Linked DNA regions of Homo sapiens: region 2 is linked to region 1. The links are contacts of gene promoters, found by promoter capture Hi-C in blood cells and fetal thymus (Javierre and others, 2016). All regions are on one chromosome and are shown on one strand. Each heading gives the region's core, a stretch centred on a gene start or on the middle of the fragment in contact. The rest is flanking DNA. Distances are from core to core; before and after follow the strand shown. Region 1 holds the start of IFT57 (intraflagellar transport 57). Region 2 overlaps MYH15 (myosin heavy chain 15).

Region 1 (4,214 bases), core at 453-2,952:
CCCTGAGTGTAATAAATTTACTTCCAAAGTCTGAGAGCTTTTTCAGAGTCATGTAAAAAGCCCCAGTTTGCTTGTTAGTTAACTTAGGACCCCAAAACATATCTAAGCTTTCATTTTTCAGTCTTATAAAGCCATACATCTATCTTACACTACTGTGACTGTTATACATACATATAACACCCCCAAGCTGCACATGTGGTGGTGGTTGGGGTATGGACTTATCGGGGAGAATCACTGTTTCAAAAAGGCAAAGACCAGGAAAGATCAATTTGGTAGTGGGGTAACATCAAATCCAATTTTCTCACTCAACTTTATTAAAAGCAGCTGGCTCATGACTTGTGGTAGGCAAGCAATGTTATTTATTTAAAAAGCAATTCTCAGTGGGCTGCCCTTCAGGTTATTCTCTACATAAGTCTGTAATTTTATGTACTTCCTTTCTTTAATGAAAAAATGGTATTTGCCCTTCTGACTTTTCACTTTGATAACCTTATTAGTATCAGAAACAAGTTAGCTGTAGACGGATTACAATGAAAAGTGTTCTCATTTTTTCTAATAAAAACAGGATATTGTAGATACATTTCAAATTTCAGTTGTCCAAAAATGTAGCCCTTCTATATTTTGTAGTGGCAGATACAAGAGATCAGAGAGCCCTTAAAAGTCACGTTATAAACATGAACATATGTTCAATCTCTTGTACTAAGTTTTCTTCCCAAAAACTGCCAGGCATCCACCACTTACCTCATTTTTTGCAACTGTTAAGAAAATTGCCTAATACAGAAGCCTTTTGAAAACTGTAAAGCTGGGCCATTTCTGTGGTCAGTTATGTACCTTTTCTTAAATTTTCTAGGTCAATAACTGCAGAATACAGTAGTAACACCCTATCTTTAGCCACCCTTAGAGCTTTAGGGCAGGGAAATTCCTTTTAAGACCATCTCTATTCTGTTGGATTTAACGAAGTACCCAAACACTTTATACTACATGTAATGGGTTTGAAACAGATTAAGCAGCAGGATGGAAGCTTAGTATTCTTGTTTTTGAAGTAAAACAAATCCTTCCAAATGCCTCCTTTTGTTCATTGTCTTCCTCATCCTTCCAACCACTTTCCTAGCACTGGAGTAACAGCCAGGCAACGTAATACAGTACTTCAAGCTTTACAATATACTGTTAAGTGCAGCATTGCCTAGTGAGAGAAAGATAAAATTAAAGAAAGAACGAGAGAAACCTCTCGTTGGAAAGTTCCTGCAGTAAAAGTGAAACCTATGGTATTGACTATCTTTACAACTATGAAAAACTTTTCAATTCTGAGAAAATAAAGGTATCAGTGAGCCAGTGCAGCCTTCAGTGCTACACGTCTTCACCTCCCTTTAATCTTTTTAACAGCTACTAGCTGACCCAGATGCCCGCTTAATTGCTTTTAGCAACCACCAGGTCCAACACACCTCAAGCCAGCTCAAGACTCACTAGGCAAGCGGAGCAGAAACGTAAGCCGGCTCCCTTCAGACTTTCAGCGAGGGAGAAGACGCAGCCGGCAGTGGGGCGCGAACGCCACGCCTCCATGAGGGGCGGGGCTGCTTCCCGACCACCATTTCCACAGAGGCAGGGCAAGAAGAGGGCCACAGGTGACGTCATTCAGGAAAGCCGCCCTGATTGGAGGGAAGGAGGCGGAGTCTAGTTTCCCTGGTGACGGATTGTCCGGTGGTCGCCTGGTAACCGGTCGTGGCTGTACTGGCGGCGGCAGGGCTGGCGGCTTAGGCCGCAGAGGTCTGTGGGCCTGAGCCCACGCTGGACTCTGTCCGTTCTGCGATGACTGCTGCTCTGGCCGTCGTCACGACGTCGGGTTTGGAAGATGGGGTGCCTAGGTCCCGTGGCGAAGGGACCGGGGAAGTGGTCTTGGAGCGGGGGCCCGGCGCGGCCTACCACATGTTCGTGGTGATGGAGGACTTGGTGGAGAAGCTGAAGCTGCTCCGCTACGAGGAGGAGTTCCTCCGGAAGAGCAACCTGAAGGCCCCGTCCAGGTGGGTGCCGGCGTCCCCGAGCGCCCGGGTGCCTGCTAGCCCCCAGGGAGATGCCCTCCTTGGTCCTGCTGGGAACCAGTTTCGTGAGAGCGGGTTAGCAATTCCTTGCCTCCGTCTTCCTAGCCAGGGAAGGGCACTTCACCCCAAACTCCCGGGAGGTCCGTGGAGCTCACGCAGCCCTGACTTGGTATTTTTGTAGAGAGAATAAATAAGTTTTGGAACGGCAGAAAGGATCGGAAGACAGCTTGCCTGTTTTTTTCCAACACACACGCATTACCAGAAAACACAAACTATATTTTCTGATTGTAAAGATGAAACAAATACTCATTGAAGAAAACTCAGAAAAACACAAGTAAATGTCTAGAAAAATTATAAGACCGTCCAAAATTCGCCTCCAGAGAGGAATGCCATTATCACTTAAGGCTTTTTTTCTAGTTTGGGGTTTTTTGTTGTTGTTTAAGACCCTGTTCATACAACTGGGGACCGTGGGTACTTAGGATCCTGTTAAGGAGCACTTTAAATGCGGTTAGTAAACTTGTTAACTACTTGCTATGGTTTAAAAGACTTCTGCCTTTGTAATAACCATACTCTCAGAAACTGAAAAGTGGAAAAGACGAATGACAACTATTGAATTGTCCCCCTATCATAGAACCTAAAGTTTTACCCTTGTTCCGGTGGGGGAAAAGTCCAACATATCCTGAAAGCAATGCCATTACTTGCTGAGGGTAGTGGTCAGCTAGGACCTTCTCCTCAAATCACTGTAGCTTAGCAGTAGCCAGATAAATCAGTTTTATAGCTTTTCTTTCACTTTAATACTTACATTTGTATATTTTATTCCATAAAAGGCAATCAGTATTAAGAATCTATAGTACTTAATGTCTACAGCCAGGCTCAAATAATTTCCCTTGATAGTTTTAATCTCATTCCACTGCTGTCTTCCAATAACTTGAATTGAAAGATATGTAGGCTTGATATAAACTGTTCATATTAAATTAGTCCATGGTCGGAGAAAAGATAAAGGAAAAAGTAGTGTTGCTTGATCCATGTTAGAAAAGGTAGTCCTGGGATTATTACTTAAAGTGAATTGATCAGGATAATATAGACAACCAACATTTCCTATGTTAATAAAAATGCATTTTTTTCCAAGTATATTTTTAAAATGAAAACAAAATGTCCTTAAGGTTCTGTTGATGTCATCTCTTGCACTGTGTCCTCAGGGGTTCAGCAGGATACTTTGAATCATGGATTTGTGTGGGGATATCCTAGTCCAATGGTTCTCAAAATGTGATCACCAGACCAACAGCATCAGCATCACCTGGGAACTTACTAGAAATGAAATTCCTCAGGCCCTTTCCCAGGTCTACCTTTTCAGTAATTATAGGGATGGGGCCTAGCATCTGTTTCAGTAAGCCTTCCAGATGATTCTGATGGACACTAATGTTTGGGAACCACTGTCCTAGGTTTACAGTATCTATTGGTGTTCATTCCTCTGCCCTAGAAGAGTTATCTGCCGATAAGGAAAAGATGACTTTTTGGTGGGTGGGTGCTTTGAAAGGATAGTGAGCATATACCTGGAAGGACTTCATGGCCTTTTTTCTTCCCAGCTTTCTGTTATCTTCCAGAACATTTACATTTATCCTGCAGGAAAAAGTTTGGGAAACATGAAGGAGTACACGACAGATTTTTATGACAATGGTTATAATAGTTGTAAATACATTGTAAACATAATAATGATAGCTACACATGAACAAGACAAATAAGATCTTTGATTAAACTGACTTGAATGTTGTTGCTAGTGAGTTTTATTCCTATAATGTTTAGGTATAAATCATACTGATCCTCGTAGAACTGTGTTTAGTAGACTAGGGGATTAAGCAAGAGCCCACAGATGTTTGACTGGTGATGTGACATTCACAGGTTCTTAATCCTGACTACACCTTATAAACATGTAGAAATCTTTTGAAATATACCCCATACTGGGCCTACTTTCACTGAAGTTCTGATTTAATTCATTCATGAGGGAAGAAGCAATGTTTGGTCAAGTACCAGTATTTTTATTAGCTCCTCAGGTGATTGAATATGCAGCCAACATAGAAACAAATGTTCACCATAGGTGATAGGTTAGAAACAGTAAAAATGCATAATGAGTAATCGTTGAGGTCTTTTTTAAACTCTGAGGTTCTTCCAGATTACCATTTT
Region 2 (3,854 bases), core at 443-2,942, 260 kb before region 1:
GGACTATTCTTGATGCTAGGGATACATCCGTGAACAAGATATTGTCCCTGTCTTGTCTAGTGTGGGAGTTAGACAATAAATACATAAATACGTAACAAGTTCCATACAAAAAGGAAGTAAAGCAGAGTTAAAAAAATAAGGAATAATAGGATACAGAGGTTGTTGTAGATAGGGTGGTCAGGAAGTCAGTCCCTCAGAGAAGAGGACACAGCACAGATGTGAATGAAGTGAGACAATGTGTTATGAAGATCTTGTAAACATCTTATATATTAACATATTCACATATGCTTTTATGGCATCTTATTTTATTTTTGCCATCCTGTTTGCTTTTTCCATGCTTTAAAACAAAGGCTTTTCTTAAAGAATGGTTTTTATTACAAAAACAAGGCATACTTACTGATAAATCAAAAAACACAGATGAGCAAATGAAATGTGTAATCTCCTCCACTCTCCCTTTTGGCTTCTTCTCAGGTTCTTTGCTGGAGCTTCCTTATCTTCCCTACTGCTAATTGCTCTAGGGCTGCTCAGGGCTCCAGCCTTGAATCTTTCCTCTTCCCTTTCTATGCTCATTTCTTTGGTGCCCATCTCAAACTCAACATGAATAGAACTGAACTCTTCATCCCACCCTGCCTTTACTACCAACTCTTCATTTCTCGGTCTTCTTCAAAAATGCCACCTAGGTTCTCCCAATTGCCCTGACTCAAATCTCAGAATCATCCTGGACTCCTCTCTTTTTCATTGTCTCTACCTTTGAAATACATCCAAAAGCTCACAACTTATCACCATGGCCATGCCCACTGCCACCACCTAGCCCGAGCCACCGTTTCTTACTACAGCCTCCTTCCTGGTCTCCCTGCTTGCATCCTTGCCTACGATGGATAGGTGGATAGCTCTGCACCCAGAAGCTACTGTCAGTCCTTTCACAGTGTCAGTCAGCCCTTGTTCCACCATGTCCTGCTTCTGCTCTAAACTCAACAATGGCTCCAAATAAAACCCCACGTTCCTGTCACAGCTTCCTTAACCTCTATGATATTAGGTTGGTGCAAATGTAATTTTGGTTTTTGTCATTACTTTTAACAGCAAAAACCGCAATTATGTTTGCACCAACCAATACTTCTCTGTCTCTCTCTAATCCCTACCGTTAGTAGCGAAATCTATCATTTTCTCGTCTCTCATTTCCCTCCACTCACATGTCCTGGCCTCTTGGATGTTTTTGGAGCATGTAAGCACTCCTATTGCAGGACTATTTTCACTAACTCTTCTTTCTGCCTGGAACTTTTCTCCTGTCCTCATGTCTTACTCCCTCACTTATTAAAGTAACTTCTTGGATGTTACCTTATTAGAAAAGCCTTCTCTAGCTACCTCCACCACTATCCCCCTAATCTAAATATTTTTCTTCATGTCATTCATACAGCTAGTTTTTATTGAATGTCCTAGCCTCCACCCCTCAATCTCCACCAGATGTAAGCTTTGTAAGAGCAGGGACCTCATTTGGTGTGTTCACTGCTATATTTCCAGGTTTTAAAATGTGCCTGGCACATAGTAATGGCTAATTATTCATTAAGTGAACCCTACCTACTCAGAGACAATCACTGTGAATGCCAAAGGACATATTTTTTACGCATTTTCTAGTTGAATATGCACATATAACTTTTTAAAATAAAAATGTGATCATATTCATGTTGTTTCAGCCTAGTATTTTTTTACCAAATTATATGTGAACATCTTTTTGTCTTTTCTGCAATATCTTTTTAGATGGCTACAAAATATTCCATTGTATGAATGTACCATAATTAACTTAAGCATCTTACTGGATACTGAGTTTTTTTCAGTATGCTTCTACCTTTAGCTCATTTTAAAAATGGAGGTGTTGAATTTTTCTTTAATTCTAAGGGTTCTTAATATATTAAGCTTTGGTAAATTTTTCCCAGTTAATTATTTAGGAAGGTTTTGAAGGAGCTGGACAGATGGAGAAGAAGGAACGGGGAAGGGCACCCAAACCCAAAGGGGCATCTTAGCCTTTGCCTCTTTCTTGAGTTCCAACTCCATATTTCCAACTCTCAGCTGCATATTTTCTAGTATCCTAAACTCTGCATGGCTAAAAGTCCATCATCTTCTCCCCTAAGTGATGTCTTCCTATTGGCATTTCTATTCATATTTATGGTATTGTTCTTCTTTCTACTTCTCAGACTGGAAACCTCCTAGTCATATTTCTCAGTCTCTCTTTCTCCCTTTCTCATTACAAATTTGGAGCTTCAGCATCTCACACTTCAGCATTCTGCAATGGGTTCACTCTGTACTTTAAAACTTCCTACTCTGGTCTGTCTTGCACATTTCCAAAATTAAGCATCCTAAAGCATGACTCTAATTATGTCATTTCTCTGCTTACAGCTCCTTTAACATTTCCCCATTCTTTAATTAATATGTTATAGCGGCATTAGATGTCTTCTGCGACCAGAAGTCACCCGCTTTTCTCAGTTTCTCACTCACTCCCTGGTATCGTAGTCCAGTCCCTCTGGGTTACAACCTCTTCTTTGACCATACCTTGTACTCTTCAACGCCTGTGGCTTCAAGTCGTGCTGTTCATTGTTAAGGAAACTCTTCTTCTCCCATATTTGCCTACAAAAACTCTTGTCATCCTTCAAGGCTCAGATTGAATGTTGTTTCTTTTTTAATCCTTCCCCAGTCATGCAGTCCAGAAGGGCTCTTTCCCTACTTCACAGTTTTGTGATACTCGATTTGTGTGTCTCTTATGCAGTTGTTTTACTGACATACTATTTTTTCCCATGTCTTATTTACTCTCATAGATTATAATTTCTTGATGCCAGGGATTTTTGCCTTGTTTATTTATCTTCTTATTACATTATCTAGCATCAGGGCTTACACATAGCAAATGCTCAGTTAACTTTGTTTAATAAATTAATGAAATATGAACAGCTCAAAAATTGTATTATAACCTTCCATAAAAGAGATTAATATCTTTATCATAACCCCTGTAGACTGACAAAACTGGATTTTGCTTCATTCTTTCATATCTGGTTATTTGCAGATGGGACTGAACTGGGACAGAATTGGAAATTTGGAAAAGATTCCTTTTTGAGTTTCTCTACCTTTTTACCTGTTTTCAGGTGAAGTCATACTTTGTTCTTTCCATCTTCCTGATTTCAAAATAAACTTACGAAACCTGGTTATTATTCTCTAGACAGTAGTTTGCAAACTTGGCTGCTCAACAGAATCGCTGGGGAACTTTTAAAATCCTGAAGCTCAGGCCTTACCCAAGCCAGACAAGCCAGATTTCTGTGGGTGAATTTCAGGCATCAGTATTTGTTTTTACAACTTGCCAGGGACCCCAGTGTGCAGTCAAAGTTGAGGACTACCACAATAACAACTTTGTTCTCAAACTTGTATGTGTATCAGAATCACCTGGGTAACACGATAAAACTAGAGCGGCCCAGCCCCTAACCTGCTTCAGGGAGCCTGTTGTTTAATCTTTGATTAGCTCTCCAGGCTATTCCAATACACACTGATGCTTGAGAACCACCTCTCTAGCTAAATGTTACCTCTCCCAGGTAAGATCATGCAGCCTAATTGAAGTCCATGGGTTCATTCACAAGGTCCTGAAGGAACTGATGCTTATGGGTGGGAATTTCATAAAGCCTATTTGGGAATATGATTAAAATATGTTTACACATATTGCTATCTTTACAACAGTAGTTCCTGAATGTCAGATGGGCATTTAGTCATAGATTTACGCCATTTTCATCTTGGTTGCAAACTGTAAACATTTAGTGCAAATGAAGTAATTTACTTTTTGGAACATGATGACCTCTATTGTTTCCTCTTTCCCCCCAAAA

What was found. Contacts are between HindIII fragments. The CHiCAGO score rates a contact against its expected background, and 5 or more counts as called.
Region 2: a contact is called between a fragment that was not itself captured here and the fragment with the promoter of IFT57 in region 1, in 2 of 17 cell types (total B cells and naive B cells). The highest score is 6.7, in total B cells.

Annotation. Positions count from the first base shown.
Region 1 is chr3:108,219,912-108,224,125 of GRCh38, reverse strand. It overlaps IFT57 (intraflagellar transport 57), which reads left to right and starts at 1,702. Exons shown (of 11, transcript NM_018010.4): 1 at 1,702-2,015. The coding sequence starts at 1,804. LOC124909405 (a long non-coding RNA gene) reads right to left here and starts at 1,521. Exons shown (of 2, transcript XR_007095999.1): 1 at 1,440-1,521; 2 at 1-1,180. RefSeq lists a silencer at 1,495-1,788 and an enhancer at 1,724-1,983. The HindIII fragment of the contact is 9,168 bases long and covers 1,152-4,214 here.
Region 2 is chr3:108,479,019-108,482,872 of GRCh38, reverse strand. All of the region lies in intron 11 of MYH15 (myosin heavy chain 15), which reads left to right. Among named protein-coding and RNA genes, the nearest start is that of MYH15, 30 kb to the left of the region's middle. The HindIII fragment of the contact is 443 bases long and covers 1,471-1,913 here.